2 separate regions of the Homo sapiens genome follow, and region 1 is linked to region 2. The links are contacts of gene promoters, found by promoter capture Hi-C in human tissues and cell types (Jung and others, 2019). All regions are on one chromosome and are shown on one strand. The core of a region is centred on a gene start or on the middle of the fragment in contact, and the rest is flanking DNA. Distances in the headings are between cores, read along the strand shown. Region 1 overlaps ACE (angiotensin I converting enzyme). Region 2 holds the start of KCNH6 (potassium voltage-gated channel subfamily H member 6).

Region 1 (4,059 bases), core at 98-2,597, 35 kb before region 2:
GTCATGGCATCTGCCATGCGATGTGCACCTCAGAACTGCTGAGAGGGCAGCGCTCCCCAGCTCCCTGGCTCCCCACCTGCCAGCCCATGGGGCCTGGGGGTAGTGCAGGCCCCAGAGAGACCAAGTGCAAAGGAGTACAGCTCATTGCCTCTCCTTCCTCCTGCAGTACAACAAGATCCTGTTGGATATGGAAACCACCTACAGCGTGGCCACTGTGTGCCACCCGAATGGCAGCTGCCTGCAGCTCGAGCCAGGTGAGAGCTCATGTGCAGGCTGAGTGAGAGGCGAGGGCTGGGACTGGCATGGGGCCCGGGGGTGCTGGGTGAGAGCACAGAGTTGGGTTCCCCTCGCTCTTGGGGTCAGCGTGCCCAGGAAATGCCCTTTCTTGTTTTCCACGAGGGGGGCTTCTCTGCCCCACTGAGAGCCGGCACCTACTTCATACCATGCCCCGATCAGCTGCCCCTCCCTCAGAACCGCCCTCTGCTTAAGGGTGTCCACTCTCTCCTGTCCTCTCTGCATGCCGCCCCTCAGAGCAGCGGGATCTCAAAGTTATATTTCATGGGCTTGGACTCCAAATGGGGGGAACTCGGGGACACTAGCTCCCCCCGGCCTCCTTTCGTGACCCTGCCCTTGACTTCCTCACCTTCTCTGTCTTTCCTGAGCCCCTCTCCCAGCATGTGACTGATAAGGAAATTGAGTCACACAGCCCCTGAAAGCGCCAGACTAGAACCTGAGCCTCTGATTCCTCTCACTTCCCTCACCTACCCTGCCACTTCCTACTGGATAGAAGTAGACAGCTCTTGACTGTCCTCTTTTCTCCCCACTGGCTGGTCCTTCTTACCCCGGCCCGTTTGAAAGAGCTCACCCCCGACACAAGGACCCGCACACAGATACCTCCCAGCTCCCTCTCAACCCACCCTTTCCAGGGTTGGAGAACTTGAGGCATAAACTTGCTTCCATGAGGAATCTCCACCCAGAAATGGGTCTTTCTGGCCCCCAGCCCAGCTCCCACATTAGAACAATGACAAATAGAAGGGGAAATGGAAAATAAACAGGAGAAACGGTTTTCCCAGGACAGGGTTTGGCCTACAAGTTGTGGATGTGGGTACCCATGCCAAGTGTGAGGGGAGGCTGGCCGGGTGTGGTGGCTCATGCCTCTAATCCCAGCACTTTGGGAGGCCAAGGTGAGTAGATCACTTGAGGCCGGGAGTTTGAGACCAGCCTGGCCAACATGGTGAAACCCCATCTGTACTAAAAATACAAAAGTTAGCTGGGCGTGGTGGTAGATGCCTGTAGTCCCAGCTACTTGGGAGGCTGAGGCATGAGAATCGCTTGAGCCCAGCCTGGGCAATACAGCAAGACCCCGTCTCTACAAATAAAATACAAAAAATTAGTTGGATGTGGTGGTGCATGCCTGTAGTCCTAGCTGCTAGGGAGGCTGAGATGGAAGGATTGCTTGAGCCTGGGAGGTCAAGGCTGCAGTGAGCCGAGATGGCGCCACTGCACTCCAGCCTGGGCAACAGAGTGAGACCCTGTCTCAGAAAAAAAAAAAAAAAAAAAAAGGAGAGGAGAGAGACTCAAGCACGCCCCTCACAGGACTGCTGAGGCCCTGCAGGTGTCTGCAGCATGTGGCCCCAGGCCGGGGACTCTGTAAGCCACTGCTGGAGAGCCACTCCCATCCTTTCTCCCATTTCTCTAGACCTGCTGCCTATACAGTCACTTTTATGTGGTTTCGCCAATTTTATTCCAGCTCTGAAATTCTCTGAGCTCCCCTTACAAGCAGAGGTGAGCTAAGGGCTGGAGCTCAAGGCATTCAAACCCCTACCAGATCTGACGAATGTGATGGCCACGTCCCGGAAATATGAAGACCTGTTATGGGCATGGGAGGGCTGGCGAGACAAGGCGGGGAGAGCCATCCTCCAGTTTTACCCGAAATACGTGGAACTCATCAACCAGGCTGCCCGGCTCAATGGTGAGTCCCTGCTGCCAACATCACTGGCACTTGGGTCCCTTCATTTTCCTCAAAGAGGTGCTGTGAAACCCCAAGCCTAGGAAAAGGTAGATCCCTGGAGGAGGCAGGTAATGTGGTGTTGGGAGAGCCTGGCTGTGTCCCCTCTGTAGGCTATGTAGATGCAGGGGACTCGTGGAGGTCTATGTACGAGACACCATCCCTGGAGCAAGACCTGGAGCGGCTCTTCCAGGAGCTGCAGCCACTCTACCTCAACCTGCATGCCTACGTGCGCCGGGCCCTGCACCGTCACTACGGGGCCCAGCACATCAACCTGGAGGGGCCCATTCCTGCTCACCTGCTGGGTAAGGGCACATGTCGGGCCTTGAGGAGGGTAAAGACGGACCACAGTGTGAGTGAGGGTTGGGACAGGGCTGACTAGAGGGTAGGGAGCAGGCTGGGGACTGAGAGACTCCAGCCCTGTGGGGGATGGTTGCCCAGGCTGGAGGGGGGTGGGCGCTGGGAGTGGGGAGCCCCCCACTTGCATCTGGTGCCACATTCACTGCAGATCTATGTCGGGCAAGTCACCATGGATGGGGGAAGAAGTTAATAATCTTGTCCAGGAGACCACGGCACCCATCACAACATTGTGTGATCTTAGAGGGCGAGGAAGAGGCTGTGAGTGGGAGCTGGGGAGGCTTTGCCAAGAGGTGGCCTGTGAGCAGGGCCTCGGAAGATGACAGGGTTTGACAGATGGGAAGTGGGGGATGAGAGGACAGACGCAGTGTTCAGGCCAAGGGAACTGGAACAAAGAAGAACCTGAGAATGTAAATCTACTTCAACCCTGGACCCTCCTTTGCCAAGGGCTGCAATCTCAGATGCCCTGAATGTGTGAAGTAGGCGGTGAGGACAGTAAGGGATGGTAGGGAGTAAGGCAAAGCAGAGGCTACTGGTTCTCTGTCCCTGATGGGCTGTTAGGAACACTTTCCTGGAGCAGAGAGACCAGACAGGCCCTCAGACCATTTAGAAACTATAAGGGAGGCCCCAGAGGACGGCCTGGCTGTGGGTCTAGCTCCCACACAGGCTGGGAGTCCAGCCCTCTTCAGCCCCTCTCTGGTGAGACCAAAGAACATCTGGTGATGTCACAGTGGACGTCAGTTCACCAACTGGGAGACACAGGCCCCGGGAAGAAAAGCAACATGCCCAGCGTGGCCTGGGAGCTGGGGCAGAGCTGGCCTTAGAACTCAGCCCCTGACAATTGGTAAAAGGGGAAAGGGGAGCAACCTAACACTGATGCGCTCTCTGTCTCTCTCTCTGGCTCTCTCCCTGGCTCTCTCCCTCTTCTCTCTCATGTTCTCTCCATCACTCATCGCTCTAACCCTCTCTCACTGGTTTGCACTTTAGACTTCATCTGATGTCAGCCGAAGCTTCACCTCACTTGGCTAGGAAAGAGCCTTGAGTCCAAATCTGTTTCTGAGCCTTCCATTCATCCTGAGTTTCTTCCTTTTCCTCTGTCGTGGAGAACTAGGCTCTTTTCTTACACTAAACTCAGAGGCATCAGCCTCTCCTGAAGGAGACGGCTGGTTCCTGTCAGAGTTGCTGAGCTGCAGACACCGACCTCAGGTGGTGCGGAGGGGACATGGCAGAGTGGCTGGTGAAGAGAGCAGCCTGCCAGCCTTTCAATCCCAGCCCTGCCACTTAGGAGCCGTGGGCCCCCGGCGAGGGGGGCGGTCACTTAACTCTCCAGCCTGTTTCCTTTACTAGCCAATGGGAATCGTGACAGTACCTGGGTGCAGACAGGATTGAAAGTGAATTCACACAATGTTCTTGGTGCAGAGCCAATAAGAGGTGGCCACCGGGGTGTAGGTGTTCTGGGGACCTGTAATGTCCTCACATGTCAGCAGTTGCTAGTCACATTGGTCTCCACTGCTCACGGACAGTGAAGACCACCTGGATTCCCTGATAACCAGCAAGGCCCCCACCTAGAGCCAGGCAGTAATGACCTACTGGGCTGGATATGCACACCAAAGATGATGTGTGCCTCAAAGCTTGCAAACAGTAGGTGCTCAAGAAATGCCACTATGATTAGCAGGACTGGGATCTGGAGCGCT
Region 2 (3,845 bases), core at 709-3,208:
AGTCAGCACAGGCCATGGTGCACAAAAGGGACTTGGAAAATGATGGAATGAGTAAGTGAATGAATGAATGAATGAATGTCCCACTGCCCAAGTCCCTCCTCAGAGCTCAGCACCCCATGTACTGAGCTCATGAGAAATAGCCCCTTCTTTTCCTCCACAGCCAGCCTGTCCAACAGAGGGGCAGCCAGGACATCTCTGCCCTCTTCTCATCCCCCAGCCACAGTGGCCAAAGAGGCCCCCACTAGGCACTGTGGCTCTGCATGACAAACACACATCCAGCCCAGGACTCTAAGCCTCTCACCTGGACTCCAGTAAAAACCTTGCTGAGCCTCCTTGTCTATCCTTCCTCCCCCACCCACCATTGTAAAGTTTATGTCACCAGAATATTTCTTTCATGTCTAATTGCTTAAGAACTTGGTTGTTCATCAATTAAATCTAGATGTTCAAAATGGCATCTGAGGGTCTTTATTAATTACCTCCTTCCTCCAAACTCACCTCTCCCACACCCCCTTGTTCCCCCCACCCCAGCCCCTCTGCACTGACATCACCTTTGGCCTTTGCCTAAGGTGCATGCCCCATTTGAATGCTTGCCCTCCAAGATCAGGCTCAAAATTGCTCACCAAACCCTCTGCAGCACTACAAGCCCACCCAGATGCTCAGTGAACAGTAGTCCCCTTCTCCCCTTCCTCTCCAGGAAGCCTCTTTCAATAAACCTATTCCCACCCCCATTTGCTTTTTCTAGTGTGTTCATTTTCAGTCAGTACTCAGTACTCAGACACTTTTATCAGTGGTCACTTGCTAATAGGTGGTTTTAAATCTGTTCTCCTTCCAAGATGTACCTGTATGCTAAGAGCTCTCAGGCCTCTGAAGAAGGCATCTTATTGCATACTTCTTTCTTTCTTTCTTTTTATTTTCAGATGGAGTCTCGCGTCTCGCTCTGTCTACCAGGCTGGAGTACAGTGGCGCAATCTCGGCTCACTGCAACCTCCGCCTCCCGGGTACAAGCGATTCTCCCACTTCAGCCTCCCAAGTAGCTGGGATTATAGGTTTGCGCCACCACTCAGCTAATTTTTGTTTTTTCAGTAGAGACAGGGCTTCGCCATGTTGGCCAGGCTGGTCTCAAACTCCTGACCTCAGGTAATCTGCCCACCTCTGCCTCCCAAAGTGCTGGGATTACAGGCGTGAGCCACCGCGCCTGGCCCTTATTGCATATTTCTTGCACGTCTTCATGTGTACTCCTACCCCCTCCTCTCAGGACCAGGCCCTGGCTGGACTTGGCGGCAGGAGCTCTGCATGGGACCTAGGTCTCAGCTGAGCTGGAGATCACTTGCTATAAGAGCAGGCCAGAGGCCTAATGGTATCATTGCCAGGGTCGGGCCCAGTGGTCAGACCCGGAAGAAAGCTTTCAGCCAAAGACCACCTGAGGCCCCTAACAACCCCATCTGTAGCCCCCCTCCTGCCTGGGAAACTCCCTGCACTGGGAGGGGAGACTGCCCTTTGGTACTGGGAGGGAATCGGAGAGGTGCTGAGGCCATTGGCCCTTAGGACAGGAACAGAAGCAGCTCCTCAGAGAACACCTGCCCTATTCCAGGGCCAGGACCCCAGCCCCGCCCCGCCCCGCCCCGCCCCGCCCCGTAGGATGCAAGGCCCCGCCCCAGCCCCGTCGGGTCCCAGAGAAACTGCCCCGCCCAGCGGCCCCCTCCCCGCCGCCGGCGCGCGGCTTCTTTCAGCACCAAGGCGTGGACAGCTCCCGGGCCGGCGCAGAGGAGAGGAGGCCAGGAGGGCGCGGGCCAGGGAGGCGAGGGGAGGGCAGGGGAGCGCAGGAAAGGAAAGGAGAGGTGGGGCAGGGGTGGGGAGGGGAGGGCAGACGCAGGCTGGCGGGCGGGGCGCGGAGCCCGGCGGCCCTCCCCGGGGGCGGCGCCCACCGGAGCCGGACGCTGCTGAGCCCGAGGACAGACGGAGACGCCGGGAGCCAGTGGCGCCTGTGGCTCCGGGCAGGGGCCGCGGCCGAAAGATGCCGGTCCGCAGGGGCCACGTCGCTCCCCAAAACACTTACCTGGACACCATCATCCGCAAGTTCGAGGGCCAAAGTGAGTGTGTGTATGTTGGGGCGGGGGGACGATCTGGAGTCCTGGTTCCGTGAAAGGGGGGGCTGGACCCCTTTACTAACTTCTAACCGGGCAAGGTGGTGAGTGCCGGGTGCTGAATGAAAAATCCTTCTTTTGATGTCCCCAACACCTTCTCCTCCAGGGGGACCCGCTTGCCTTAAATGCTGTCCTCTTTTCTGGAACACAAGGAGCAGCGTGCAGGCCTTCCCTCCCTACTGCCAGCTGTTTCCTTGGTGCCCCAAGTTCGAACCTCCCCTTCCAGCCACTGCCTGCCCCCTCATCCGCGTCCTCCAGAGGCTTCTCTGAGTCCTTCTTTTCCTTCCTTTTCATATCCTGGTTCTGGTCTTCCCAGGAGCTTTCCCAGGCCTGACCCCCATCTGGTCACATCCCTGCCTCCCTTCCCCACACTTTTCCTGTTTCCAGGAGGCCTTGGGCCTTCCTTCCACCTCAAGACCCTCACTGCCCTAGTCTTCCCACAATCCCCAGGCCTGACTCCCTCCCTCATTCCGGTCACTGCCCTGCTCCTCTGCCTAAATTCCCCTTACTGCCACCAAGAGTCCTTATGATCTTTCCCTCCCAGCCGCTGGATCCTGGCTCCCATGGACTTTTTGCCTCCCACCTCCCACCCCAGGTCGGAAGTTCCTGATTGCCAATGCTCAGATGGAGAACTGCGCCATCATTTACTGCAACGACGGCTTCTGCGAACTCTTCGGCTACTCCCGAGTGGAGGTGATGCAGCAACCCTGCACCTGCGACTTCCTCACAGGCCCCAACACACCAAGCAGCGCCGTGTCCCGCCTAGCGCAGGCCCTGCTGGGGGCTGAGGAGTGCAAGGTGGACATCCTCTACTACCGCAAGGATGGTGAGGCATACTCAGGCCAGAGGCTTTGCAGGGCAGGCTTGGCCCTCTGTCTTGTCCAGCCAGGGTGGCCTTGGGGAAGGCACTGACCCAGGGTCCAAAGGGCCTGAACAAACCCTGTTTCTTCTAGGGGCCTTGGTTCCTCCACAGGCATTGGATATGATGCCTTCTGAGGTCCTTTGCAGGAGCTAGGGATCAGGCTGGGCCACCCACTGGTTCTGGCCTGGGGCAGGGCCTCCTGCTCTGCCATCCCTCTGCTGTGTCCCTGGTCTCCTGGCTCTCCACTATCTTACTGTCAGCCCCAGCGGTCAGGCAGCTGGGATGGAAATTAACCTTCCCTCCTCTCCGTCTGCTCCAAGGATTAGAGGAGGAGTCACCTCCTGAAGACCTCTGTGGCCAGGCAAGGCATGGGGGCTTTTGGCTGGCAAAGTGGGGTGGGCCTGCCTTATCCAGTCTCAGCTCTTTGGGGAGACAGGGTCTGGAGTTTTCCCTGACCAAGAAGCTCATTCAGATGGAGTTTGGGTTGTTACTGCCAGCTGGAGCATACTGCAAGCAGAACAGAAGCGTAAGTCAGGAGCTGAAGACAGATCTCAGCAGCCCTTGGAAATCCTCCCCCACCCCCCAGGACCACAGGGTCCTCACTGGACCTGGCAGCATGGGTGGGAACGAGGAAAAGAGCCTGAATGTCCTGGGAAATCTCTTGAATCAATGGCCCCCAACCTGGTTCTGCATCAGAATTACCCAGAGCATGTTTTCCAAAACATGCTTTCTCTACAGAGAGGCTGACTCAGAAGGTGTGAGATGAGGCCAAGCGGGTGTATTTGGAAATATCTCCCTGGTGGTTCTGATGTCCTGCTTACTTTAGGAACCACTGGCTT

The links. Contacts are between HindIII fragments. The study calls those that stand out against the background at their distance.
Region 1: a fragment that was not itself captured here is called in contact with the fragment with the promoter of KCNH6 in region 2 in 4 of the 25 tissues and cell types used here (IMR-90 fibroblasts, lymphoblastoid cells, mesenchymal stem cells and 1 more).

The regions. Positions count from the first base shown.
Region 1 is chr17:63,486,820-63,490,878 of GRCh38, forward strand. ACE (angiotensin I converting enzyme) reads left to right here. Exons shown (of 25, transcript NM_000789.4): 15 at 167-254; 16 at 1,829-1,972; 17 at 2,122-2,313. Among named protein-coding and RNA genes, the nearest start is that of ACE, 12 kb to the left of the region's middle. RefSeq lists an enhancer at 1-174. The HindIII fragment of the contact is 4,675 bases long and covers 1-3,685 here.
Region 2 is chr17:63,521,400-63,525,244 of GRCh38, forward strand. KCNH6 (potassium voltage-gated channel subfamily H member 6) reads left to right here and starts at 1,959. Exons shown (of 13, transcript NM_001278919.2): 1 at 1,959-2,090; 2 at 2,740-2,970. The coding sequence starts at 2,015. The HindIII fragment of the contact is 20,898 bases long and covers 1-3,845 here.